Regions from separate parts of the Homo sapiens genome. Here all the other regions are linked to region 4. Evidence: promoter capture Hi-C in 16 types of primary human blood cells and fetal thymus (Javierre and others, 2016). All regions are on one chromosome and are shown on one strand. Each heading gives the region's core, a stretch centred on a gene start or on the middle of the fragment in contact. The rest is flanking DNA. Distances are from core to core; before and after follow the strand shown.

What was found. Contacts are between HindIII fragments. The CHiCAGO score rates a contact against its expected background, and 5 or more counts as called.
Region 1: a contact is called between a fragment that was not itself captured here and the fragment with the promoter of PMP22 in region 4, in 2 of 17 cell types (total CD8 T cells and total B cells). The highest score is 6.8, in total CD8 T cells.
Region 2: a fragment that was not itself captured here is called in contact with the fragment with the promoter of PMP22 in region 4 in 4 of 17 cell types (naive B cells, total CD4 T cells, total B cells and 1 more); the score reaches 7.3 in naive B cells.
Region 3: a contact is called between the fragment with the promoter of ADORA2B here and the fragment with the promoter of PMP22 in region 4, in 2 of 17 cell types (erythroblasts and megakaryocytes). The highest score is 7.3, in erythroblasts.

The regions. Positions count from the first base shown.
Region 1 is chr17:15,973,487-15,980,461 of GRCh38, reverse strand. ADORA2B (adenosine A2b receptor) reads right to left here. Exons shown (of 2, transcript NM_000676.4): 2 at 4,716-5,783. The coding sequence ends at 5,120. It overlaps ZSWIM7 (zinc finger SWIM-type containing 7), which reads left to right. Exons shown (of 5, transcript NM_001042697.2): 5 at 2,299-3,902. The coding sequence ends at 2,415. Among named protein-coding and RNA genes, the nearest start is that of ZSWIM7, 23 kb to the left of the region's middle. RefSeq lists enhancers at 737-1,323, 1,324-1,909. The HindIII fragment of the contact is 740 bases long and covers 3,254-3,993 here.
Region 2 is chr17:16,002,359-16,009,245 of GRCh38, reverse strand. It overlaps TTC19 (tetratricopeptide repeat domain 19), which reads right to left. Exons shown (of 10, transcript NM_017775.4): 4 at 6,415-6,453; 5 at 5,359-5,415; 6 at 4,984-5,045; 7 at 2,678-2,772. Among named protein-coding and RNA genes, the nearest start is that of TTC19, 6.0 kb to the right of the region's middle. The HindIII fragment of the contact is 7,124 bases long and covers 548-6,887 here.
Region 3 is chr17:15,939,645-15,946,569 of GRCh38, reverse strand. ADORA2B (adenosine A2b receptor) reads right to left here and starts at 1,440. Exons shown (of 2, transcript NM_000676.4): 1 at 987-1,440. The coding sequence starts at 1,321. RefSeq lists an enhancer at 623-1,437 and a silencer at 1,265-1,884. The HindIII fragment of the contact is 5,899 bases long and covers 1-4,548 here.
Region 4 is chr17:15,261,054-15,267,389 of GRCh38, reverse strand. PMP22 (peripheral myelin protein 22) reads left to right here and starts at 2,064. Exons shown (of 5, transcript NM_000304.4): 1 at 2,064-2,236. It overlaps LOC124903931 (a long non-coding RNA gene), which reads right to left. Exons shown (of 2, transcript XR_007065632.1): 1 at 6,255-6,336; 2 at 1,481-1,934. The HindIII fragment of the contact is 20,659 bases long and covers 1-6,336 here.

The sequences.
Region 1 (6,975 bases), core at 2,374-4,873, 710 kb before region 4:
TGTCCACTCCATTCTTTCCCTTTCTTTTACACTGTTAACTTCTTAAACATCTTGGGACCTGGCTGGCAAGTTGGGTATAGCATTGTCCAAGAGGCCACATTCGTAACTGATGTGCCCTAAGTGTATCTCAACTGCAAGAGACAGGATTGAACCAAAACCCCTTCAAGATCTAAAGCTGTGTTCTCTGACATCAGATTCAACGCAATCATCTCCCCAGAGGTGTGTACAGGCCAATATATGCAAGAGTTTTGCCACTACTCCCCGCCCCCCAACCCCAGAAGTATAACACAGTAGTTAAGAGAGTAGCCTAGACCAGCCGCCTCGTCCGGGAGGTGAGGGGCGCCTCTGCCCGGCCGCCCCTACTGGGAAGTGAGGAGCCCCTCTGCCCGGCCAGCCGCCCCGTCCGGGAGGGAGGTGGGGGGGTCAGCCCCCCGCCCGGCCAGCCGCCTCGTCCGGGAGATGAGGGGCACCTCTGCCCGGCTGCCCCTACTGGGAAGTGAGGAGCCCCTCTGCCCGGCCAGCCGCCCCGTCCGGGAGGGAGGTGGGGGGTTCAGCCCCCCGTCCGGGAGGGAGGTGGGGGGGTCAGCCCCCCGCCCGGCCAGCCGCCCCGTCCGGGAGGGAGGTGGGGGGGTCAGCCCCCCGTCCGGGAGGGAGGTGGGGGGGTCAGCCCCCCGCCCGGCCAGCCGCCCCATCCGGGAGGTGAGGGGCGCCTCTGCCCAGCCGCCCCTACTGGGAAGTGAGGAGCCCCTCTGCCCGGCCAGCCGCCCCATTCGGGAGGGAGGTGGGGGGGGTCAGTCCTCCGCCCAGCCAGCCGCCCCGTCCGGGAGGGAGGTGGGGGGGTCAGCCCCCCGCCTGGCCAGCCGCCTCGTCCGGGAGGTGAGGGGCGCCTCTGCCCGGCCACCCCTACTGGGAAGTGAGGAGCCCCTCTGCCCGGCCACCACCCCGTCTGGGAGGTGTACCCAACAGCTCATTGAGAGCGGGCCATGATGACAATGGCGGTTTTGTGGAATAGAAAGCAGGGAAAGGTAGGGAAAAGATTGAGAAATTGGATGGTTGCTGTGTCTGTGTGGAAAGAAGTAGACATGGGAGACTTTCCATTTTGTTCTGTACTAAGAAAAATTCTTCTGCCTTGGGATCCTGTTGATCTGTGACCTTACCCCCAACCCTGTGCTCTCTGAAACATGTGCTGTGTCCACTCAGGGTTAAATGGATTAAGGGCGGTGCAAGATGTGCTTTGATAAACAGATGCTTGAAGGCAGCATGCTCGTTAAGAGTCATCACCACTCCCTAATCTCAAGTACCCAGGGACACAAACACTGCGGAAGGCCGCAGGGTCCTCTGCCTAGGAAAACCAGAGACCTTTGTTCACTTGTTTATCTGCTGACCTTCCCTCCACTATTGTCCTATGACCCTGCCAAATCCCCCTCTGTGAGAAACACCCAAGAATGATCAATAAAAATAAATAAATAAATAAATAAAACAAAAATTAAAATTAAAATTAAAAAAAAAAAAAAGAGAGAGTAGCCTAGAGACTCTGATGAGCATGTGGTTACAATACCTGTCTTCCTAGGGAGCTGTCAGATTTCAGTGAGATAATCTATGAGAAGCACTTCACAGCCTAGTGCCTCAAGGAATGTTAACCATTGCTGTGACAGCTTTCTGAAGGCAAGGAAGAAATATAACTTAGGACTAACGTGAGGAGTGCAGGTAGTCTGGGTTTTCACCATGGGTTACATACCTTGTGCCTGATGGATCTAAGCCATTTCCCAAAGCAGCAGGCAAAGTAAGTCTGTGTCCACTCTGATTTCTAAAGAGAATACTCCTGTCTCATCATCTTTATCTGCAGTTTTTATTTATTTATTTTTTGAGACAGTCTGGCTCTGTCACCCAGGCTGTAGTGCAGTGGCGTGATCTCGGCTCACTGCAACCTCCACCTCCTGGGTTCAAGCGATTCTCATGGCTCAGCCTCCTGAGTAGCTGGAATTACAGGCATGTACCGCCACACCCAGCTAATTTTTGTATTTTTAGTGGAGACAGGGTTTTGCCATATCAGCCAGACTGGTCTCGAACTCCTGATCTCAAGTGATCCATCCGCCTCAGCCTCCCAAAGTGCTGGGATGACAGGTGTGAGCCACCATGCCCGGCCCATCTGCACTTTTTAGACAATCAGTTAGAGACCCCGTAATCTGTATGCTCTAGTCTTCTCCTGCCAAATAAGATGGTAATGAGAAATCTTGGTTAGACTGGCCAGCCCTGGCCCTGCCTGTTTCTAATAGGTGTGTGTGTTTTATATTCCAGTGCAAGCATCTCTTGGCAGTTTACCTGAGTCAGGTTATGAGGACCTGTCAGCAGCTAAGTGTCTCTGACAAGCAGTTGACTGACATATTATTGATGGAGAAGAAACAAGAAGCATAAAAGGTACAGATTGAGCATCATTCTTTCAAAATAGAATCCTGTCAAGAAATGCATTGAAAGCGTCATGATTCACATGGAAAAGAGGTGAAATGGATCTTCAGACACTTCATGTTACTGTCCCTTTTCCCTCCAGGACTGCAGGAGGTGCTGTGGGTTGGAGCCGTGGGCTGTGGAGGGTTTGTGTATGATGAGAAGCCCTGTACAGTCTTGTCAAGAAATACCCTGAGCCAGTCTCTGAGACGCTTCGGTAAAAAATGTCCCTGGATGGAATCAAGATTTTAAATTCAAATAAAGCCTAATATCATGTTGTGTCCACATTATTTAGTCTTTTTTTTTTTCTTTTGAGATGGAGTCTCACTTTGTCGCCCAGGCTGGGGTGCAGTGGCGTGATCTCAGCTCACTGCAAGCTCCGCCTCCCGGGTTCACGCCATTCTCCTGCCTCAGCCTCCCGAGTAGCTGGGACTACAGGTACCCGCCACCATGCCCGGCTAAATTTTTGTATTTTTTTTTTAGTAGAGATGGGGTTTCACCGTGTTAGCCAGGATGGTCTCCATCTCCTGACCTAGTGGTCTGCCCGCCTCGACCTCCCAAAGTGCTGGAATTACATGCATGAGCCACTGCGCCTGACCCTATTTAGTCTTAAGTAACTAACTGAATTACTAGTAATTTTTAAAAGGTTGGAATGGTGGGCCAAACAGTAAGATGAAGTTTCGACGAGTAGGTCAGTTCTTTTCCTTGGGTCCAGGAAACTATTGAGCAGCAACAGAAGATCAGAGCAGAGATGTGGCTAAACAGTAGCAGGTATGAAAAGACTTAGAGGTTCTGGTTTCTGTAAGCTTCAAATATCTGTGATGCTTGTGCCAAAACAGCTTAAGTAGACTGTATTGTTTGAGAGTTAGTATCGAGAACAAGGGAAGAACTGGTTTCACTCTGCACTTCTGATCTTTACAACAGGGCAATTGAAGGAACAGACTAAAAATCGTGTCCTGGAAGGAAACTACAGGTACTACCAGGGATTTTCAGTCTGAAGAAGAAAAGACAAAATAGATGACAGAAGGAGTATTAGAAGGGAGAGCGATGAGACTCAGTTGGACACCGAGAGAGCAAAGAAGCAATAATACGTGAAGATGAAAATGAAATCAATTTCAGCATAAGAAGACAAGAACTTATGGTAAAGCTGCCCACAGCCAGAAGAGGATCCTAGAAGGACAGGAATTCCCTGTCTGCAGCATTTCATAAGCATGTAATATTGTTGCAGGGATACTGCAGAAGGAGTTGAAGCAGTGGACAGACAGATGATATAGGTGATTTTACAGCCTAAGAAAGCCCTGTGCTTGTGCCCCCAAAACATGAGGTGCTAGTGAATGAATGCTGGGGGAAAGCCCAGGGCCTAGGTGTTGCAATGTTCTGTGGTTGGCAGATGCTTTTTGTTTTGTTAAAAAGTGCAACAGATAAAATTTATCAATACTTTTCTGCTACTCAGGAAACTTGGACTCAGCATAACTTACTTTTTTTCCAGCAGCCTTCAGGGTAAAGTTTAGAAGGTAGATGCAACAAGCCAATGCAGCACCCTAAGCTTGTCTTTTTAAGTTTTATTTTTATTTAACCTAATATACACAGAGTTAAATAATTTTACTTCATAAAATTTTCACACTTTGAGTTCCAAGAACTTAACCAAACTTGAAATTTGGAGAGAAGCAAAATTCCCTATCTATCTATCTAGCTCTAGAAGGCAGAATTTGGTAGAGGAGGGATCCCATTTCACCAGTTTCTTCCCCACGGGTAGTTTTCTGTATATGGAAAAGAATGGAGCTTAAAATTATGTGATGAAAATTTGACTTATGAGACTATCAATCAATCATTTCCCTAAATTAATACAGCAGTTTCTTGATTGAATACTTTATTTATATATATATATATATATATATATATATATATATATATATATTTTTTTTTTTTTTTTTTTTTTTTTTTTTTTTCTGAGACAGAGTCTCACTCTGTCACCCAGGCTGGAGTACAGTGATGCCATCTGGGCTCACTGCAGCCTCCGCCTCCCAAGTTCACATGATTCTCCTGCCTCAGTCTCCTGAGTAGCTGGCACATGCCACATACCCAGCTAATTTTTGTATTTTTTAGTAGGGACGGGGTTTCACTATATTGGACAGGCTGGTTTTGAACTCCTGACCTCGTGATCCGCCTGCCTTGGCCTCCCAAAGTGCTGGAATTACAGGTGTGAGCCACCATGCCCGGCCGAATAATTATACTTTTAATTTTTGAGGTCACCTTCCTGGCAACAAGTATACATTTTTAGTACAGTCAACTTTTATTTTTCCATTGCCTCTAAGTTAAAAAGTATTTGCATTATAATAGTTCACACTGTTTCACAGTAAAATAGTTTCAGTAATTTTCCACCATAAACAAGGCAGACTTTTAAAAACAAAAGAGTCTGTTAGAATCCATTCAAGCTGTTGGCATAATCCACACAGTAAAAGCAGCTGAATAGATCATAAATATATTTGTCAATCCTTGGAGCCTACTACTGACACATACATATTAGCTAGATACGTGGTAGCTCCAGGGAAGTGCTCAAGAGAGGCAGTCCATTTCCTTGTGAGGTGTAGCTATCTTTCACAATGAAAACCAGCCGTGTCCTCTTTGTTTCTTGTGGATTTGTATCTTCTCCTGGAAGAGGCGAGAGCCTAGATCATAGGCCCACACCGAGAGCAGGCTGTACCCCAGCCTGACCATTCCCACTCTTGACATCTGCTTGGCAGAGAAGATACCTGGAGATAATTTTGTGAAAAGTGTAGCGGAAGTCTCGGTTCCGGTAAGCATAGACAATGGGATTGACAACTGAATTGGCATGTGACAGAAGAATGGCCATATTCATTGCCCACTTGGGCTTATTTTTACCCTGAGCTGGCTGGAAAAGAGTGACACAGTTAACAGCATGCACAGGTAACCAGCACAGGGCAAAAATCCCCACAATCATGGCCAGTGACTTGGCTGCATGGATCTCCCGCTGGAGGGTGGTCCTCGAGTGGTCCATCAGCTCAGTGCGCTGAAGCTGCCTGCAGGCCACCAGGAAGATCTTAATGTAGATCACCAGCATTATAAGCAGTGGGGGCAGAACACACCCAAAGAAATTGAAATATACCATGTAGCTCATGGGGACCACATTCTCAAAGAGACACTTCACAAGGCAGCAGCTTTCATTCGTGGTTCCATCCCAGGGTTCTGTGCAGTTGTTGGTGGCACTGTCTTTACTGTTCCACCCCAGGAATGGAGTCAATCCGATGCCAAAGGCAAGGACCCAGAGGACAGCAATGACCCCTCTTGCTCGGGTCCCCGTGACCAAACTTTTATACCTGTTTAAAAGAATACCATCTGTTACGGTCAGTTTATAGCGCTCTGCAACCACAATCCAAGACCCCACCTCCTCTTTTTTCCATGACCCTTTAACAACCTCTAAAGTTCACCTTCCAGGGCACTAAGGCCTTTACCCTCAATACTAAAGACATGCAAGCAGGGATGAGCAGCTTTGCTCTAGAAAACTCAGTAAGATCTTCATTCTTGACTTAGCAACTCCTTTCTGTTTAGTGACACAGGATGGCCAATGACAAGAGGTGGGGAAGCCTTAAGGGAGTACTGTAAGTCCTCAATGTCCTCGGTGGGTTCTCAAACTGTGACTTGAAGTATATGTCATAGGAAGTTAACTCTTGTTTATATTGTTAAATCAAGTTTAGCCTAAAGCTGCCTCCTTACATATTTTAAATTTGGCCTAAAGGTTTCTCTGTACATCGTGGACTACAACAAGTGGACGTGTAAACAGACTATAGCCTGCACTCATGCCAATCCTCGACTTTTGGCCAATCAAATGTGGCCAACTGTTCGAACCCTGTTCAAAAAGGGCAAATGCTGAGCTATAACCAATCCAGCTGTTTCTGTTCCTCACTTCCATTTTCTGTACGTCACTTTTCCTTTTTCTGTCCATCACTTTCTTTTTTCTGTCCATAAATTATCTTCCACCACGTGACTGCACTGGAGTCTCTGAGCCTGCTTTGGCTCAGCAGGCTGCACAATTTGTGAATCATTCTTTGCTCAATTAAGCTCTTTTAAATTGAATTCAGCCGAAGTTTTTCTTTTAACAGTATCAACTGTGGTAAAATTGGCTTTGTTATACAGTGCATCATTTTGCTTCAAGTCACAGTTTCCAAAAACCGATCGACTTCCTATACTTCCTACCTACCTAGGTACCGCTCTTTGAGTCTAGGTCTTCTGTAAGGCATTGTTCTAGGTCAGTGGTCCCCAACCTTTCTGGCACCAGGGACCAGCTTCATGGAAGACAATGTTTCCACAGACCAGGGGCGGGGGGTGATGCATTAGATTCTCATAAGGAGCGCACAGCGTAGATCCCCTGCGTGCACAGTTCACAATAGGGTTAGCTCCTATGAGAATCGAATGCTGCTGATCTGACAGGATGCAGAGCTCAGGCAGTAATGCTCGCCTGCCTGCTCACCTTCTGCTGTGTGGCCCAGTTCCTAACAGGCCACGGACCAG
Region 2 (6,887 bases), core at 2,860-5,359, 740 kb before region 4:
TAAATGAAAGACAGCAAAGGTGTAAATAGTTCAGAAGTGACTTACTTGACAGCTAGACTTGTTTTTACACCTCTTGTGGATTTCCTCAAAGCACTTCCACACTGCACTGAAACTGGATTTATTTGCTGGTCTTTCTTGGGTCTTTTGTTCTTTCATTCAGTAATTATTGAGCCTCTATTATGTGCCAGGCACTGTTCTAGGCACCGAGGATTTAGCACTGAGTATAATGGATGAAGTCTCTATCCTTCTTTGATATGGAAGACAAAGACTAAAAATTTTTAAACAAAAACATACTTTTAGTGGAGAAACACAAGCACACAACACACACACCTCTACTTTTAAGTGTGATGAAGAAAAGTAAAGGAAAGAGGAGTAGAGCAATAGTAAGGTGGGAAGAGATGATAGTTTTAGTGAAGGGAGCACTCTGAGGAAGTGCTATTTGAGCAGAGACCTGAGTGAAGTACGGGAGTTGGCCAGAGAAAGGTAAGAGAGAACAGTCTAGGTAGGGGGAATATCAAGCAAAGAGGCCTTGAGGTGGCACTAAGCTTGGAATGTGCCAGAATAAGACCAGTGTGGTGAGACTGGAACGAGCAAGGGGAGAGCAGCAGATGGCATGGAAGAGGTGGGTGGGCCCAGGTCATAAGCGCCTTACAGGTCCATGCAGGGATTCTAAATTTATTCTAAAGGTGATACAAAGGTACTGAGGTCTTGAAACAGTGATGGCCTGGACCAAAGCAGTAGGGTAATGGGATGAGACATGGTCAGTATGGATATATTTTGATGGCTGATCCAGTATAACTTGCTGATGGATTAGATATGAGGAATGAGGAAGAAATCATGGACAATTCTTAGGTTCTTGGCCAAAGCAACTAAATGAGTAGTGTGCCATTTACAAATCTGGGGCTGACTGGTGACGAAACAAGTTGTGAGCGGCAAAACTGAGACCTATTTTGGACATGTTAAGTATGAGATGACCATTAGACTTCAAGTCAAGATGTCGGGTGGGCAATCATAATTATAAGTCTGCCATTTGGGGGCAAGTTGGGGCTGAAGGTATAAATCTAATATTTAAAACTATGGAACTAAAAGATATCTCCTAGGTGTTGGGGCAGAGAGAAAAGAGAATAGGGCTGAAAACAGCCCTAAGGCGTGCCAACATTAAGAGGTAGGGAAGTCTATTCACCTCACTAGAGAGACCAGTGAGGCATCCCAGAAGCCAAGTGAAAGTATTTTCAGTAGGAGACAGTGATCCCCTAAGTTAAAGCTGCTGATGAGTAAGTTAAGGATTGAGAAGTAACCATTGGATTTGGTGACTTTGATAAAGGTAGCTTCAGTGGAGTGATGAAAACAAAAAAATTGGTGTACAGTGATCCCTCCTACTCCACAGTTTCATTTTCTGGGGTTTCAGTTATCTGCAGTCAACCAGAGTCCGAAAAATATTAAATGAAAAATTCAAGAAATAATCCGTAAGTTTTTAAATTGCATGCCATTCTGGGTGGCATGAAGAAATCTTACACTGTCACACTCCATCCTGCCCAGGACATGAATCATCTTTGTCCAGTGTACCCAAGTTGTATACGGCAGCTGGCCTCAGTCACTTAGCAGCAGTCTCAGTTATCAGATCAACCCACAATGTTGCAGTACTTGTGCTCAAGCAATCCATATTTTACATAATGGCCCCAAAGTGTGAGAGTGGTGATACTGGCAATTTGAATATGACAAAGAGAAGTCATAAAGTGCTTCCTTTTAATGAAAAGGTGAAAGTTCTCAACTTAGTAAGAAAACAAAAAACAAAAAACAAAAAACTGTATGCTGAGGTTGATAAGATCTACAATAAGAATGAATCTCCTGTCTGTGACACTGTTAACAGTATATAGTTATAATTGTTCTATTAAAAGTTATTGTTGTTAATCTCTTACTGTGCCTAACTTATAAATTAAACTTTATCATAGGTACATATATATAAGAAAAAAACACAGTGTATTAGAAGTCGTTTCAGGCATCTGCTGGGGGTCTTGGAACATATTCCCCATGGATAACGGGGGACTACTCTATGTTCAAGAGAGAGTTAGAAGACCACTAGGTACAGAAGAGTTGACTGCTGTATCCCTACCATCTCGGTAGCTCTTGGTATAGAGTAGGTATTGAATAAATGTCAAATCTGAAAATTCTCAATACTTCAACCCAAATTAAGAAACCCAAAATGGTGGAGAGCTAGAGAGCTTCCTGCTCATCCAGTTCTATTCCTAGCCTCCAGAATGAGTGAGGATGGATTGTAAAAACATGAGCTTTTTTTCTCTTCTTTCTTAATTTGCTGTATATCTAGGGCTAAAACGTAATAAGCATTTTGATTGGTAGCTGAACTAAGAGATACGAGAAACACCTTCTCCTTCTGCTCCCCAATTTTCCTTAAGTTATATGTAACTAAAAGTTAACAAATAAATTATGACCATGTTACCAAGGGGGTTAAAAAAAAAACCACCACCAAAACAGCAGTCAAATATTTTAAATAAAACATCTTATTCCAAAACTTCTGCTGATACCTTAAAGACAGACACTTATTTTGCAAAATAGGTAACTTTCCCTCTTCCCAATTTAGATCTCTTTCCATTTCTCAAAAGTGTAAAGTAAAGCCTTTTGTGGAGAAAAGGCAATGCCCAGATAATGGGTTTCCTACCTGACATAATGTCTTCTGCTAATTCCTTTTCTCTTTCAATTTTTTCCTCTAGAGTTGAAATGCAGAATTCATAGCCAGCAACAGCAAATTCCTGTCTGTAAAGCAAAATCAATAATCAGCCATTTACCTTTTCTTCTTTTTTTTTTCTTCCTTCTGTTGAGATGGAGTTTCGCTCTTGTTGCCCAGGCTGGAGTGCAATGGCGTGACCTCGGCTCAGAGCAACCTCCACCTCCGGGGTTCAAGCGATTCTCCTGCCTTAGCCTCTCGAATAGCTGGGATTACAGGTGCCCGCCACTATGCCCAGCTAATTTTTGTATTTTTGGTAAAGACAGAGTTTCACCATGTTGGCCAGGCTGGTCTGGAACTCCTGACCTTAAGTGATCCACCCACCTCGGCCTCCCAAAGTGGTGGGATTACAGGCGTGAGCCACTGCGCCCGGCCCATTTACCTTTTCACAAATTCTTTTTATCTTCATTTTTCCAGCTCAGTTTAAACATTATCAGTAAAGGAAGTGTAAAATGGGAAGAGGGAACTTTGCTTAAAGTCTAAGTAGTGTCAAATCTGCCATTTCTCAAAGCAGTTTTTTTAAGTCATCCATTTAATATAACTTAGGACACAAAAAGCTAGGAATGCTGCCCTAATTTTAATAACTGACATAGCCAGCAGTATTCATCATCTCCCACTAACAGATGGCCTCCAGTGAATCAACTTCTCCATGTGTGAAAGCCTTACCCCTGTTCAAAGTAATACTACCCTAAACAGTTCAGGCCGCCCTACAGTGAGGATTCCAACTGTTGACCTCATACAGCTTCTGAGGAGCTTTAGTCATTTTATATTTCTTTCAAGCTATAAGTCTCTGATAAAAGTTTCTTTTGCAGAAATGGGACTCCTAGCTATGGCAATAGAAGTCATTTAACCCAACTCTGTAGCCCTGGACCCTCAATCAACTGGAGAGGGTTGAGTCAACCCAAGCAGGCCGACTGACTGCTGCTTTTTACAGAGATGCAGAGGAAATGTGACAGAAATCCCTTCTCCATTTAGGAGCTCAGCTTTGGTTCTTTTCTTCAGTTTTGGCTCTAGTTTCTTACAGAAGTGGCACTAAAAAGCTCACCTGTTCTCTAGTGCTTTGCCAGGGGAGAACTTATGACCCTACTGTTCTGCTCTGTTCTCAGAAGAACAGAAGCATCCCCTTCCTTCCCTACGCTCAAAACTTGGCAAGAGGGCCCTCTCTAGCCATAACACAGGGCAAGTGGACACTGCCCAGAAGACGCTCCCAGTCGGAGCAAGAGGTCTACAAACAATTCCCCTCATAACCTATATCAGCCTTTCGAAGCCTCAGATCTGGCCATGTCTTTTCTAGTCTCATGCTTCTCTTAATAAAACAAAATGAAAAGTACAGAGTACCATGTAACTCAGAGGCTAATTGTTACTAGCTTTCACCTCTAGAAGACTATGAATTTGTCTTACTCAACAATGTTTATTAGGCTCTGGGCTTCTTCTTACCCTAGGGATTCATACCCAATCAAGAACTAGGCATGTTTGTTACAACTCCAAGAAAGATTGACCAAGCTGCAGTGTTCCCTGGCATGGGCCAAGCTCAAAGCTCCTCAAAAGACTTGAAGTCAAAGGCTCCAGGAAGCTCTAGCCTATCTAGTGTCCAATCAAAATGCAAGGAGACTATGCAGGTCCTGATGAGAACAAAGGAGCTGGTGAGTAGGACAGTAGGGAACAGTGCCAGGGCCTGGCCTCAGTGAGCACCCTTTCTACAGCATCAGGCTCCATGTCACTCCAAACCTCTCGCACCAACTTCTGCACCACTAAAACCTGAAGGGAAGCTAGTCTTAGGTCTCTCCCTAAATTCATCCCAAATACAACTCTCTAGAGGAGTTCTCTGCTTACAACCTAGATGCTTCATCTTTGAACTCTATTTATACCAGCAAAATGGCTTCTTCAGAGTATTAATATATTATCCCCAGCAGCTTTCACACTGCTCTTTCCTCTTCTAGGAAAAGTTAAACTAAAGTTCTAACTCTAACTTCCCTTCCCACTTCAAGCAGCAACAGAAAACTTAGTTAGTTTTGTCACAGGGCAGCCAGAGATGTTGTGTGCCCCACTAGGCAGGCTGATGGAAACAGTAGGGGCAAACTGGAAAAAGACTGACAATTTCAAAGATGAGGGATGGAACACTTTGAGTGTGACACCCAATTTCTGGGAGACCCAGATGACCAGTAGACAATGAATATTATGTAACATCCCAGAGTCAAAGTTTCCTGCCCACAGTCCTACTCCCTGGCTGCTGTACTTACCTGTTCTGCGCAGCATAGATACTGGCCAGCTTTAGGGAAATTTCAATTATTGCATTGTCCTCCTGTGAGAGAAAGAGAATGAAGGGAACTCATAACAAGTAAATTTTTTCATGGCATATTTCAGATCAACTTCCAGACTGACGGTGGCCTCAAAGCCACAGTCTTTATTCTTTTAGAGTGATGAGCCAACTGTGAATTCCTTGGCAAGCATGCTGTTGCATTTAGTGAAAGAATGGCAATTTGTATAGAGATCTCAGAAGGGAAACTCCACCTTTCCTGACCAAAGCATGTGGTGGGGCTAGGAGGAGTTTTCAGGAGACAAGACTGTTTTGAAAACTGCTTCAGTGAGGGGCCAATACTAGGCAATGTCCTTACCTGCTTCATGCCCCCTCCAAGGAGGTAACTCATTGTTGCTTTAAAAAGTTGTTCAGCCTAAAAGCATAAGGAAAAGATTTTTCTTTTAATTGGGCCCCATTTTATATATATATATATGACCCTGGATTCTAAGTGCCAGTCTGATGCAACATTCCTTGTAAAACCCATATACCCACACACACGCACACTCACACACAGAAAAGTACCCTTTTGAAGCGAAAACAGATCAAAATATCAGGACCCTCAACATCCTCTGTGTACCTTAAACTACTCTCTGATGAGTAGAAAACAACCTCAGAGATTAAGTTCTTATCCAAACCCACTGTGGCAGAGACTACAAACTGTCTCCTAATAGTCATTCTCTTCTCCATCTTTTTGATTACAGAGTCCCCTCGATTTAGCCTGGGAAATATGGTGAAATCCCGTCTCTACAATAAATAAATAAATAAATAAATAAATAAATAAGAAAATTAGCCAAGTGTTGTGGCACACGCCTGGAATCCCAGCTACTCAGGAGGCTGAGGTGAGAGGATCAACTGAGCCTGGCAGGTCGAGGTTGCAGTCAGCCATGATTAAGCCACCGCACTCCAACCTGGGCAACAGAGCAAGACCTTATCTTAAAAAAAAAATTCAGTCAATTTTAGCAGATTGGACACCCTTAAGTTAGATATGGTCATATGATAAAATTTAGGCCAAGGGATGCAGGCAGAAAGAACGTGAACTTCTAATCATGTTTTATAAGGAAGCTGCTCACAGTCCATCTTCTCCCCCTTCCTGCAGACTGGAGGTGAGTCAGCTCACCTAGGCAGAGGAGGGCTTATCTTAGAAGAAACCTGGACTTCTGGATCAGAGAGCAAAGGTGCCTATGTCTGTCTGCCTTCAGTCTTTAGCCTATCTCTGGACTAACACAATAAAGAGAAATACACTTTTATCTTGTTTGAGTCACTATATTCTAGGGTCTCTTTGTTATAGCAGCTTAGCCTGTACTCTTACTATTACAGTTCCCTTGAAGCTACTCCTTCATAAATTCAAGATATTACAAAGCAATTTACTTACATTTTCAAGCTGACCCCGTATAAATGCTAAGTTGGCCATCTGAAAGCAAATTACAAATTGTTTTTCAGTTTAGAATACTGTGTTCCTACTTATTTCAAAACTTTAAAATTCCCTTTTGCTTTCACCCTCAAAATTTAAAAAATAGTTGAAAATGAAAAGCACATCACCAATTAATCTGCAAGAAGAAGCACAGGACAGCAATCATGTGAGAATTAAATACTTGCACATACTTTGTTGTTAACAAACCAAATCTAGGTCCACTCATCATTAAAAAAACATGCTAATGATACTGGTTTTTTTTGGTCTGGAATTGAGAGGTCTTATGTCACCCCAAGGGTAAAAAAACTGAAGCTGTGGCCGGGCGTGGTGGCTCATGCCTGAAATCTCAGCACTTTGGGAGGCCAAGGCAGGTGGATCACCTGAGATCAGGAGTTCGAGACCAGCCTGGCCAATATGGTGAAACCTCGTCTCTA
Region 3 (6,925 bases), core at 191-2,690, 680 kb before region 4:
TCTGTGATTTAGTTTCCCTGTCTCAGCTCCAAATTTAAAGAGATCTCAAGCTCTCCTCAGAAATGCCAAAGTGGCCCAGGCACCAAAGACAGAGAATAAATACTTTCAACAAACTCTCAATGTTGAAGTCATCAGCTCCAACTGGGAATCCACTCTGGTCGCTGGCTGACTCCATCCCCTGAATCCTAGATTTTCTCAGTGTGGGAGAAAGAGTGGACAAGTAAGTTCGCCACCATTTTCTGCACTTCTCAGCCCGCTCCCAACAGGGCAGCAGGAGATAAATAGTTACACAAGGGCAGTGAGGCTGTAAGGCCGTTTGCCAGACACGAGGAAGCATTGTAACTCCTTTTAAAAGTATATAATCTGAGTCCGTAGCGTTCCCCAAAGTTAACGGACACCTTCCCCTGGGATGGGCCGGGCCGCCTCTCCGCAGCAGACACGTTCTGAAGCTGGCTCATGCGTGTCCATTCTGACGGTGCGAATGCCCAGCGTCCAAAGTTGCCTTGCCCTTAGTGGGAACCTCCCGGGCCTCCGGGAGCCGCAGCACTCACGGGACTGCCGCTGCACCGCCGCTGCGGGCGAGTGTTAGGAACGGCCTTCGTGGCAGGAGTGGAGATGTGATCACCAAAACTCCCGCGCCCCGGGCTCCACCCGCCCACGGGGGTGACGCTTTCCCCGGGGGTGACGCTTTCCCCGGGGTTTCCACGGCGCCTCCCCGGGCGCCGGGGACCGCACTCCCCGGACCCCCTAGAGCTGTCCCTACGCAGATCTCCTTAGAGCGACGCGCATCTGGGATGTCTTGGGTGCCCGGGCGCACTGGTCTAGCGTTGCGGGGTGGCCAGGCTGGGAACCAGCCCTCCAAGCGCCCCGCGCGCCCCCAGCCTGGCCCGTCTGGGGCCCCCGAGGGAGGAACCCCGGCCTGGAGAAGACGACCCATTTCGGAGCTCCGACGGGGCCCCGAGTTCGGGCGACGCCGAGCGCCTCACCTGAGCGGGACACAGATGGCCAGGTATCTGTCGACTGCCACGGCCAGAAGGCTGAAGATGGAGCTCTGCGTGAGCACCAGCACGAAGCAGGCGAGGAAGAGGCAGCCGTAGAAGTCAGTGCAGAAGCCCAGGCTGATGGTGATGGCAAAGGGGATGGCGAAGAGCCCCACGGCCACGTCGGCCGCAGCCAGGGACACCAGGAAGTAGTTGGTGGGCGTCTGCAGAGTGTTCGCCGTGCCCACCGCGGCGCACACCAGCACGTTGCCCGCCACCGAAAGCGCGGCGATGACCAGCTCCAGCGCCACGTACAGCGCGTCCTGTGTCTCCAGCAGCATGGCCGGGCCAGCTGGGCCCCGGGCGCCCCCTACCGAAGGCGCGCCGGGCGAGGGGCAGCCGCGTGAGACCCGCCGGGCATGGCCATAGCGCCCGGACCGCGCCTCCGCCTGCCGCTTCTGAGCCTCGGGGCTGGGGCGCTGGTGGCCGGGACCCACGGGTCGGGGCCCCCCGCGGCCAAGAGGCGGCACCCATTGGCCCGCGCGCCCGCCCGTCTCGGGCTGGGCGGAGCACCACCCACTCGCCCGAGCCCAAAGTTCGCGCCCGCGCGGGGCCCCTCCGGTCCAGGCGCCGTGCCGCGTCTTGGTGGCGGCGGATAACTAACAAATTGCCCCAACTTCCCGTCACGCTCGAGCTCGGAGGCTGTGTCCCAGTGCTCGCACTGCCTTCCAGTCCGGGCGACTCCTGGGATGGGGCCGGGCTCTGCCCGGGGCGCCAGCAGGTCCCAGGAGCCGCCGCGAGAGGACCCCCCAGGGCCGCGCAACCCCGGGCGGGGCGAGCTCACTCCAGGCTAACCCTGCGCACCCCGGGCAGGCCGACTGGATGGGGGGCTGCCGGGCAGGCAGGGAGCCGAGGCCGCAGTCCCCGCTCGTGCAGCAGTCTCGGGCAGCGCAGCACCACCGGAGCTGTCTCCAGGCTGCGGGGCCGGACTGCAAGGAGCCCTCGGGGGCTGCAGCCCCCTCCGGCCGCCTCCCAGCGAGGCTCAGCGCTGTTCTCCACCCTCGCCCGCGCCACTGCCCCTACGGCCCCGCTCTGCCTTCTACCTTAAGACAAGCTCGTGGCCGTCCCATCCTCGTCCACCGCCCGAAAATACCAGTGTTCCCCGGGCCCTCTTTTTTCTTTCCTTCACACTCACCCTGGATCGGCACAGGCTCCCGAGGCCTCCCACGTGGCCCTCACACCCTTAACTCCCAAATCTCTTGCTTCAGCCCTAACAGCCTCCTGAGGGCCAGATCCTAACACCCCACTGCCGACTCTCGCCAGGAGAGAGACTGGTGCCCCCAAATCCAACAAGACCAAAACCAAGCTCATCTCTAATTCTCCCCAAACCTGTGCTGCCGCCTTTTCCTGGGACCCTGTTCGTTATTGACCTGGCAACCCTCACCCACCCTAGGAAGTTTGCTGACACCCTGAGCCTTCGCCTTTCTCCACGTCCCAATGATCAGCAGTGCTGCTGGTTCTGCTTCCAGAGACTTGCTTCCTTTTACCCCCAAAGTCCTGCCCCGAGTCCCTCCTCACCACCTGCTTCTACCATCCCTCCCTCTCTGCCTGTGGGTCCTCAGCTTCTGCAGCCCTCACCAACACCATTGTTCTAGAGCACTCCTGGCCACGCTATTTCACCACCCGAAAGCCTTTGCTGACAGTCACCAAAGAGGATGGGTAAGGAGATTTTCCAGCAACAGGAAAAGATGCTTGTAAAATCATGTAAAGCAAAAATCAAAACATGGGGTGACTGCTAAAGGGTAAAGGATTTTGTAAAGGATTTTTTAGGGTGATAAAAATTTTCTCAATGTGGTGATGGTTGTACGGTTCTGTGGATATACCTCAATGCCACTGAACTGTACACTTGAAAGGCATGCATTGTGTGGCACATAAATTATATCTCAATGTAGCTGTAATGACGACAACATGGCTCACGCCTATAATCCCAAAACTTTGGGAGGCCAAGACAGGAGGAACATTTGAGGCCAGGAGTTCAAGACCAGCCTGGCCAATGTAGGGAGACCCCATCTCTAAACAAACAAATAAAAAATAAATCAGCCAGGCACGGTGGCAGGTGCCTGTAGTCCCAGCTACTTGGGAGGCTGAGGCAGGAGGATCCTTTGAGGCCAGGGGTTCGAGGCTGCAGTGAGCTGGGATCATGCCACTGCATTCCATCCAGGCTGGGCAAAAGAGGGAGACCCTGTCTCTAAAAAAAGACAAGAAGAAGAAAAACCCCTCTGCCCTCCACAGGCATAAACAGTCACATCTGCCCTTGCACCAACGAGGACAGCAAAATGTCAAAAACACACACAGTAGACCTCCTAGCTGGGTGGGATGATTACAGGGAATTTTTTTTTCTATTTCCCTTGAGGTTTTGTTACTTCCATAATGAAAACAGTTGATTTATATATCAAAATATTGGCAAGCCCACACATTCCGTGTCCTGGTCACGTGAGTTCTGGAATCACCTGCTCCACCAATCACGTTCCCACAGCAGTTGACACAAACTTCTGCTGCCACACAGAAGGCCAGAGAGATCAGGCAGCTCCTCCAATAGCACTTCCTTGGAGTGGCAGAGGGCAAAGGGTTAGAGGAGGCTTCCTGGGGTACTGGCTTTTACAGAGTGAGGGAGGCTTCACAGTGGGGTGGTTCCAGCTATACCAGGCAGAGGTGGTAGTTAGGAGTTTGCCCAGGGGTGCCATGCCCAGGAGAGTGAAGAGAAAAAGGCCTAGTGGAGAAGGCTCTGGCTGCCAGGCTGGAGAGCTGGGCCATCCTGCTGGGATGCCAGTCCGCAGAGGTCACAGGACGGGGCGGGGATGGTCAGAGCAATATCCAAAGGAGTGAGTGGAGATTTTGCAGAGGGAGAGGAGGCGAACGGTGTCTGGCTGGTTGCTATGAGTGGTTCCTGCACGCCCTGCAGCTGCTGGGCCTGGGCTCTGCTCTAGCATTTCCTGTGCCCAGAATCACCATTTCCCCTTTTCAGAGCCCAACCTCCATCAGGAAACCTTCCCTGAATCACCCAATGTATTAGGCCATTCTTACATTGCTATAGGGAAATATCTGAGACTGGGTAATTTACAAAGAAAAGAGGTTTATTTGGCTCACAGTTCTGCAGCCTGTAAACCATAGTGCCAGCATCTGCTTGGCTTCCAAGGGGCCTCAGGGAGCTTTACTAGTGGCAGAGGGTGAAGTGGGAGCAGGCATGTCACATGGGGAAAGCAGGAGCAAGAGGTGGGGGGAGGTGCCACACCTTTTTTAACAACCGGATCTAGTGAGAACTCACTCACTATCATGAGGACAGCACTAAAAAGGATGGCACTAAACCATTCATCAGAAACTGCTCCACTGCTTCCACTAGGCCCCACCTCCAACACTGGGGATTACATTTCAGCATGAGATTTGGGAGGACAGATTTCCAAACGATAGCACCCAAGTAGGAAGTCTCCAGCACAGGGCTGTGCCCTGTTCCCGTCTGTGTTGCAGTCCACTGAGTTTCAGGTCCCCGGTGTCCCTCACCAGCAAAGCTTTCCCTTCTCCGTCCTCTCCCCACCCCAGCCCCACCTGGTACCCTCTGACTCACACAACAACCCGCCCCTCTTCACAAAGTCTTTGTGAAATGAATCATACATTTTCCTGACTCCTTCAACCCCTGATCCACGCTAGGATTTGAGCTGGACTCACTGGGTCCATGGGGGTGCCAATTATTATTATTAAATATTATAATAATTATTATTAACAGGTTATTATTCAGGAAACACGAGGAGGAAGGGTGGAATCCGAAGAGAGTCATGGCATTTAGTCTTTTTTTTTTTTTTTTTTGAAACAAGAGTCTCACTCTGTCACTGAAGCTGTAGCACCATGGTGGGATCATAGCTTACTGCAGCCTCAACCTCCTGGGCTCAGGTGATCCTCCCACCCCAGCCTCCCAAGTGGCTAGGACTACAGGTGCACACCACCATGCCTGGTTAATTTGTAATGTTTTTGTAGAGACAGTGTCCCACTATGTTGCCCAGGCTGGTCTTGAACCCCTGGGCTCAAGCGATCCTCCCATCTCAGCCTCCCAAAGTGCCGGGATTACAAGTGTGAGCCACTACACCCAGCTGGTTTAGTCTTGAAAGCAATTGGTGTGCAGGGAGCAGAGCCCAGGTCTTAGCAACAGAGACTCCAGGTTTGATTCCCAGCTCTGCTGTTGATGTTGGACAAGTCAATTAATCTTTCTAAGCCCCTATTTCTTATGTATAAGATGGGATAACAATATCTACTTCACAGGGTCAGGCTAAAAAGGGGCAGGAGGAGCCATCTGCCATCTGACTACCTCTAGATCCTGACTCCTGGAAAACAACTGCAGTGATGAAAGCATCTGGTTAGGTTAGGACTAGAGCCCTAGAAACTCAAGTGGGACTTTCACTGGTGAAAGTGGAAGGGTATGCTTCCTGAACAAACTGACCCTCCGTGGACCTCTTCCAGACTGCTAGTACACATCGTCTCATCTCTCACCCCTCTCATCCTGCCTCAACTGCCAGAGCAGAATCCAGGTGACATACAGATGGTCCCAGAAATATCATGACAGGCCCAGGTTCTCTCTTTCTGCTCTGCCATCTTCAGTAGCTTTCCTCTTAGGCTTGTTGCCACATGGTTACAAAAAGGCTGCCACAGCTGCAAGCATTGCTTGCTCATGCAACCTCATTCAATGCAGAAGAGGGCTAGCCTCCCTACCGTTTATCATGAGGTGAAGTCGTGGATCACTTGCTACCCTACACCAACCATGAGCACAGGGAAATGGAATGATCATGCCTGGCTTTGACCAAATATGGTTTATTCCATGGGGAAGAGGAAGGGGCATACCTTTCCCAAATATGTTACCCTCCGAATAAACTTGGGGCTCTATAAAATAAAGAGGAAAAGAGTACAGTGCACATTGCCCCTCAGTGTCTGTGTGAGTGTCAGAGGGAAATTTTAAGTCTAACCTGAGAGCTCTAGGCCTCACTGGCTTGTACATAAAGATGGCACACATCAGGAGTCACAGCCTACATTTCAGAACAGCTGACTCTCTCCAGGCCTCAGCTCCCCACAAAATCCCTCAAGCACTTCTGGAAGTCAACAAGGGTTTCTTACTGTACCTCAACGTTCTACTTCTCTCCGACATCCAAGGACTTGTCACTGGTTCAAGCTTGGGACTGGCTCCGCTTTTCCTGAGGATGAGCCCAATCCCAGGAGGCTCCTCAGTCTCTGCTCAGTGAACGACTGTTGGGTAGGTCTTGCCAAGTCTTCAGAGGCAGCTCTGCACCCCAGAGATGGACACGACCAGACTCCTGCACCATTGCACACACAAATCGCATGTTCCCAACACTGACGGGCTTTAAGTTCTTGGACAAAAAGACTTTGCTTTCTATTTATTCTGTACTGTCTTTCCTAGGGTTCTTGAACAATGTTTGCAAAATAGTGAGCACTTAATACTGTTACCACATGTATTGTTTCAGAAGTAAAGTGGGTGCCAGGCAGTGCACTTCAATTTCCTCAAATCTGAAATGAGAAAGTTAAAATAAGGACCAAATTATATGATAAATATAGAAGCACATTAAAGAGTATTCATTCCATATATGTATGAAGTAATGTTACACATACATTCACTCTGCCCTCAGACATTCAGAGAAAATGTAACTTCTTTTTTTTTTTTTTTTTTTTTTTGAGACAGAGTCTCGCTCTGTTACCCAGGCTGGAGTGCAGTGGTGTGATCTTGGCTCACGCAAGCTCCGCCTCCTGGGTTCATGCCATTCTCCTGCCTCAGCCTCCCAAGTAGCTGGGACTACAGGCACCCGCCACCACACCCGGCTAATTTTTTTTTGTATTTTTAGTAGAGACAGGGTTTCATGTGTTAGCCAGGATGGTCTCAATCTCCTGAC
Region 4 (6,336 bases), core at 815-3,314:
CAGATGCATGGGATAGGGGTCCCATTTGGCTGAGAAAAGGTTATTGGAAATGGGAGACGAGGAAGGAGTTTTCCTCACCTGACTCTGGGAAGGGAAGAGAGTCTGGCCCAGATGGGTAAAGACAAGTGTGTTGGCATCTGGTAGACAGGGCCAGTGGCACACAACAGTGAACAGCTCTACTGCTGACAGCCAACAGGGACTTCGGGGTTTGGCTGCTGGAGATGGAGGACCTGGGCAAAAGAGACGTGAGGCCAAGAGAGCAGGTCTCAGAATGTGGAGCTCATGGAAGGAGAGAGGGAGGGCTAATCAGACTGCTCCTATCTGGCCAGAAGCCATGCCCCACACTCACCAGGCCCTACCCCTTTTCCTCTGAATCTTTAGCTCTTAGATCAGAAATAATCTTACGTGTCTTCAGGCTTGATCCTGGCCTGACGGACAGCAGCCTCTGTCGTGTAGCCTTTGGAGCTGATCATGGCAGTACCCAGGAAAAGACTGTCTGGAGAGGCTGCAAAAACCATGCTCACTGTTCCCAGTCCCCGTACAGACCATGTCAGAGGAGGACTGAGGGAGGCTCCTCTCTCTCTCTCTCTGTCACACACACGCACACGCGCACACACACACACACAGATACACGCGCACACACACACACCGTTTTGCCTGGCAGAACAGACTTATAACTTGCATAATACTGCAGCAGCCCACACTGTACCTCATCTCCATTTGGGTTCCACAACAGAAGGGAGCTGGAAGGAAATCAGCGACAATCTAACTCCACATGACAACCTGGCTGGACAACGAAACATCCAGCGGGGAGAAAGACACTGGAAATTACCCATACCTGAGCCCCATCCCAAAACACCTGAGTCAGCTTCTCTGACCATGGCCCAGGCTAGGTCATTTGCAAAGCTCTTGAGTGATTCTAAAGAACCACTGCTGTGAAAAATAAAAATGATTTCAGCAAAGAGAGAAAGGTGAAACTATTTTATTGGCACTGGCTGTGATGCTGGCTGTGAGCAGATGCTGGCTGTGGGCAGAACAGGGGAGAGGGCCATTGAGAGGCCCTTGTGACTGGAGAGTCCAATCAAACGTAAAGTGTGTGACAGGGAGGGACTCCTCCAAATTCTGCAGGTCTCTCCAGACTGGGGATCCCTAACACAAGAGGAAGTCTTATGCCCCAAGTGCCAGAATTCCAGGAAACTCATGCAATGAAACCAGTCCTCTTGTGTCAGAGTTTGCAGCTAGAAGCGGTTCAAGGGATGGAGGACTCTCTGGGAGCTGGAGTGGTACGCTGCAAAGAACCTAAATATGCCATAACTTCCTTTACTTCCCTCTCCAAGAATTTCCAATTGCTCTTCCAGCCTATTCTGCCTGACAGGTTAGAAAGTTTTCAATAGTTTTCAATAGAGGTTCGTTTACTTGCATTGAATTATCTCATGAAGGTCAGCTTGATTCGGGCACATTAAAGACAGAGTCGGAAGAACACATTTCCCTAAGTTTTATTCTAATGTACAACACATGTGATCATTTGCGATGGGGTCTAGGCAGACAAGGCAGGTAACAGGGAGTCCTTCCAACCAGGGGTTGGAACAAAGGAGGCTTGATTTGGTGACTCTTGAGACATTTGGCTCACTGCTGTGATGCTGTGAGAGATTAGCTGTGCAATGTTTGGGCTCCTTAAAAGGAAGTTTATTTAAAATAAAACTTACCTGCACGTATGTAACACTGTAGACACAGATCCTTCCCACAGTATATTTAATCTCTGCAGAATTCACTGGGAGGGGAGGGGAGCCAGTGGGACCTCTTGGCTATTACACAGGTTGGCACTTCCAGAGAGAACAGTCTTGGCATCACAGGCTTCAGGCATACTCAAAGCTCTTCTCCCTTCTGATTCCAGTTTCTCCATGCCCTGCAGGGCCTCTTGGGATTATTGTATTCTGGAAAGCAAACAAAGTTGGACACTGTCTCTTTAAATAATAGAGGCTGAGAACCTCTCAGGCCACCATGACATATCCCAGCATTGGACCAGCCCCTGAATAAACTGGAAAGACGCCTGGTCTGGCTTCAGTTACAGGGAGCACCACCAGGGAACATCTCGGGGAGCCTGGTTGGAAGCTGCAGGCTTAGTCTGTCGGCTGCGGGTCTCTGACTGCCCTGTGGGGAGGGTCTTGCCTTAACATCCCTTGCATTTGGCTGCAAAGAAATCTGCTTGGAAGAAGGGGTTACGCTGTTTGGCCGGGTGAGTTTTATTGGCAAACTGTGCCTCTGGGTGATGTGTGCCTATGCTTTACAAGAATTGCCTAATTTCCCACCCCCTGCAAGCCGCAAATGAAAAGGATTGCAGGAGAGATGGTGCATTTGTGTTGGAATTGACTGGAGATTCAGAGGGCTTTTTATATCCTTGGTTAAAAGGTGGATATATACTCTGGCTGGGGAGGTGGGGGGCCATCTGAGAGCATCTAGAAACCCTAATGCATCCAGATTGAAAGGAAGAAAGGAATCTAGATGCTTTTTCCCCCATGGAAAATAGCTGTGCACACACAGCTGGCAGGTGGCCTTGGTAAGCAGGTTAGGGAGAAGCTGCCACCTGTGGCAGAGCCTTGGCCAGCCGGGCTCTGGGTGTGGCAAGCCTGGTCAGCAGGCACTGAGTAGCACTTCCTCTGCCACCATTGAGAACCAGGCAGGAGGCCAGAGGCAGTGAGGGACAGATGGGTTGGGTTTACCTGTCTGGCAGTATATGGTGTGGCTGTGACCTGGGTGGTTATTGATTAAACTATTGGGTTCAAAAGAAAGGAAGAAGCGAGCTGTAGCACCCAATATATGCACTTTTCTGTATGTGTATTAGACTTTATTAAAAAGTTTATTTGAAAATCACAAAGGAAGGGAAAGAAAACCCTGAGTTAGATATGCTCATATTTCTAAAGTGCTTACTTAGAACAGTCCTGAGTATGTTGTGATCACATAAGTGTTGGTTAAATAAATAAATGTCCAAATGGCATAAAACAAAGTAATAATTTCTAGAGCAAATCTAACTTATAAAATGACCTGTGGAGGAAAGAAAACACTGCCATGTCTTTAGACTTTTTTTTCTACTTGCATATGCACTTTCATTTATAAATCTTTATCTATCTATCTATATCTATCTATCTATCTATCTATCTACCTACCTACCTACCTACCTATCAGAGTTACAAGCTACTTTAGTGCAGAGGTGGTCAGGTCTTCCCTGAAAGGTTGATGTGAGAGTTAAATGTGATATAATAATAGTGGTGGCAATTTGGGCACTGGGCCCTTATTATGTTGCAGACACGATGTTAACTGCTTTGTACATATTGTCTCCTTCAATCACCACCATAAACCTTTAAAGCAGGCATTACTATTTCCTTTTGCACCTGAGAAAACTGAAGCTCAGTGAACTTGAGAAATTGCCCAAATTCACAACAAAAGTAAGCAGGGTGATTAGGTTTGTTGGAGCCCAGAGCCAGAGTGCCTAACCACTGCACCATACTGCCTCTCACAGACCATGCATATAAAGTCCAGGCAAAGTGCTTGGCATATAACGGGCACTGTAAATGCAGTGTTTACAAGTACACTTCATTTTAATCTGATAACACGATAGTTTTAAAAAGATCATTGTTTGAAGATCTTTTTCAAATTTATTTTTACTTACCGTAAGAATATACAATTAGCTAAAATAGCAGCTCCTTTCAAATCGTAAAATAATATAGAATTATTTGAATCATTGAGAGTGATGAGCTTCTATGACACAGTACACTAGAGGTAGGGAAGTGTGTGTGTGTGTGTGTGTGCGCGCGCGTGCGTGAACTGCTGCATTTTCAGGCAGAAACCTTTAACATCCACATTCCTGCTCCCTGTCCCGTGCCTCAAGGCTGGCCTGCGCACGGGAGTCTCAGTTGGGCGCGCCTCTGCCAAGCCGAGACTGAAGGGGGCTAGCCTCTCTCCCTGTAACGCTGGGCGGGCCACGTTAGGAGGCTATGAATCAGCTGATTTCCTTGGCTGCTCCAACCCCACCTCAAATGGCCACCTCGCACCCGCCCGCCAAACCCCATGGCCAGGACTCCAGCCAAGGCTGACAGCCAAGCCCGACTGCTGCAGGAACACTTTGCCTAGAGCTTATTCGGTGGTAGTCTGGTTTTGCCTAGGCTAGGAGGAGCCCAATCCCAGACCATGCTATCCAGTAGTCGGCCGGACTTTTCTTCCCCTAATTCGCACCCAAGAGGAGCCCGCTAGATCAATCCCCGCCAATCCTAGGAAGCTGGCATGCTTCGTAGGTGCAGACAGTAATAGCGGGGACCGGCGCGGGGCAGGTGTGTCCGGCTAAGACGCCAGGACAGGGCAGGGGCTCCAGGACCCGAGAGGAGAGGGACTTCTTCCAGCGCTCAAGCGCCCGCTGCCCTCTATTAGTGGGAAAGGAATCCAGCCTCAGCCCCGCGCGGGCGCGGTCGGCGTCGGCGGGCCCAGAAGCCCAGCCCTGGGCATCCGCTGAGCTACATTTGGCTGGGTCTTCCCAGAGTGGGCTGAGGAGCCAGTTTCTCGGTCAACACTAGGTCTCCACGGGGCCAGGGGAGAAGGGAGGTGGGAGGTGAGAAAGCTCAGCCGCCTCTGGTTTCGAGTAAAAGTCGCCGCGGTTTTGCAGGGACCGACTTTTTCTTGAGGCGCATTTAAGGCCAAGTGACTGTCTCCTGCCCTCCCTCTCTCCTGCCCCCTCTCCTCCCTGAGTCCCGCCCTCCCGCACACGCTGACCCAGGGACACACCCTACTGCAGCGACGCAAACAGGGCGTTGTTCCCGTTAAAGGGGAACGCCAGGAGCCTCCCACTGCCCCCTTGCTTCGCGCGCGCGCAGCCCCGCAGCGCAGCTTTGGCGGCGCCAGCAGCGGAGCCAACGCACCCGAGTTTGTGTTTGAGGCCACCCTGAGGATCGGGACAGCTGTTCCTTTGGGCTGTAAGTGATTTGGTGGGGAGAGTGAAGGAGATGGAGGAGAAATGTGGGCATCTTCCAGTGAGGGTGCCAGAAAGCGCAGCGCAGGCGCGGGGCTTTGGCCAGCTCCCTGGGGCTTCTGTTTAGGGGCACAGGGTCCCCTGTGTGTCCTGTTTCCCTCCAATGGGTCTTGGAGTAATACAACGAGGAGAGCCTTTATGGTCTATAAGACCTTACAGGGCAAGGGTGATGGTGCTGGTGTCTGGATAGCGGATAAGGGCGGCCCAGTTCTCGCCTTGCTGAAGAGGCGTTGACTCTGGGACACACTGGCAAAACAGTCCCTGTGGCGGACATCCCGAGAGTGTTGGACTCCTGTGGTTCCCCAGTTCCCAGCCTCCTGCCATCGGCTTAATTCAAACCCTCTGGGAGTCATCAGAAATCCTTGTTTATTTCTTCCAGTGCATTCCAGAGTTTCTTTGAATGTGATGCTTGTGGAGAGGAACAGAGGGGCCTGGGATTGGGTACTTTCCAAACTGGGTTATTGAAACGTTGTCTCCCTGGCCCAAGACTCTGCCTAAAATGGTCCCCAGAGTCTCAGCCAGATCTTTCACAGCCATGCATGTCCTCTAACAGGTCATCCCAGCCTTCAGTTCCCCCAAAGTTTAAAATGAGGGGCGAGGACCGCATTACTTGGGATAAATGTCCTGCCGGCTCTGACCGGCTGAAATTCTCGGACTCAGCCTTTTACCCTCTGTCTCTCTCTCCCGTCCGCTGGACATCTACTCCCTTCGGTCCAGGCTCCTGGGCTCCTGTCCCACCGCACCCAGACCGGAGCTCAGGCTTGTTGGGGTTCGTGTCCTGGCTTTGAGTGCCTGGGGTGCAGACTGGACCCCTAGGCGAGCACGTGGGTCTAGCGCAAGAGCAGAATGCCCCCTGACCCCAGGGGCTGCCTGGGGAAGCGCGCGGTGGACGGGAAGCGCAGGGTCCGGGCAACCCTCTCGAGCCATTCTTTTCTTTCCACACTACTCTGGCTCTGCACCACCTCTCCGGAGCCGCCAGAGTCTGCGCGAGGCTGAGCTGGGGCCAGGACCGTTCCTCTACGCTGGCAGAGTTGGGTGGAAACTTGGAGACAAACGGAATGCGGAGAGCACTGGGGTCTGGGAAACCAGCCTCCTCGCCGCTGTCTCCCCCACCGCATGCCACGGCTGTCTCCAGGTCTCAGACGGAAATCTGGGCACCTACTCCCCTCACCCCTACCTCCACCCCATAGGGGAATTCACCATCTGAACCGGGGTCTCGGAGAACGTGACCTCTCACCTTCCAGGGAGGTCGCCGGGAGGTGCTTGGGGTGGGTGGAAGCGTGCAGTGGCCTCTGCTCATATTTTCTGGAAACCCCTCC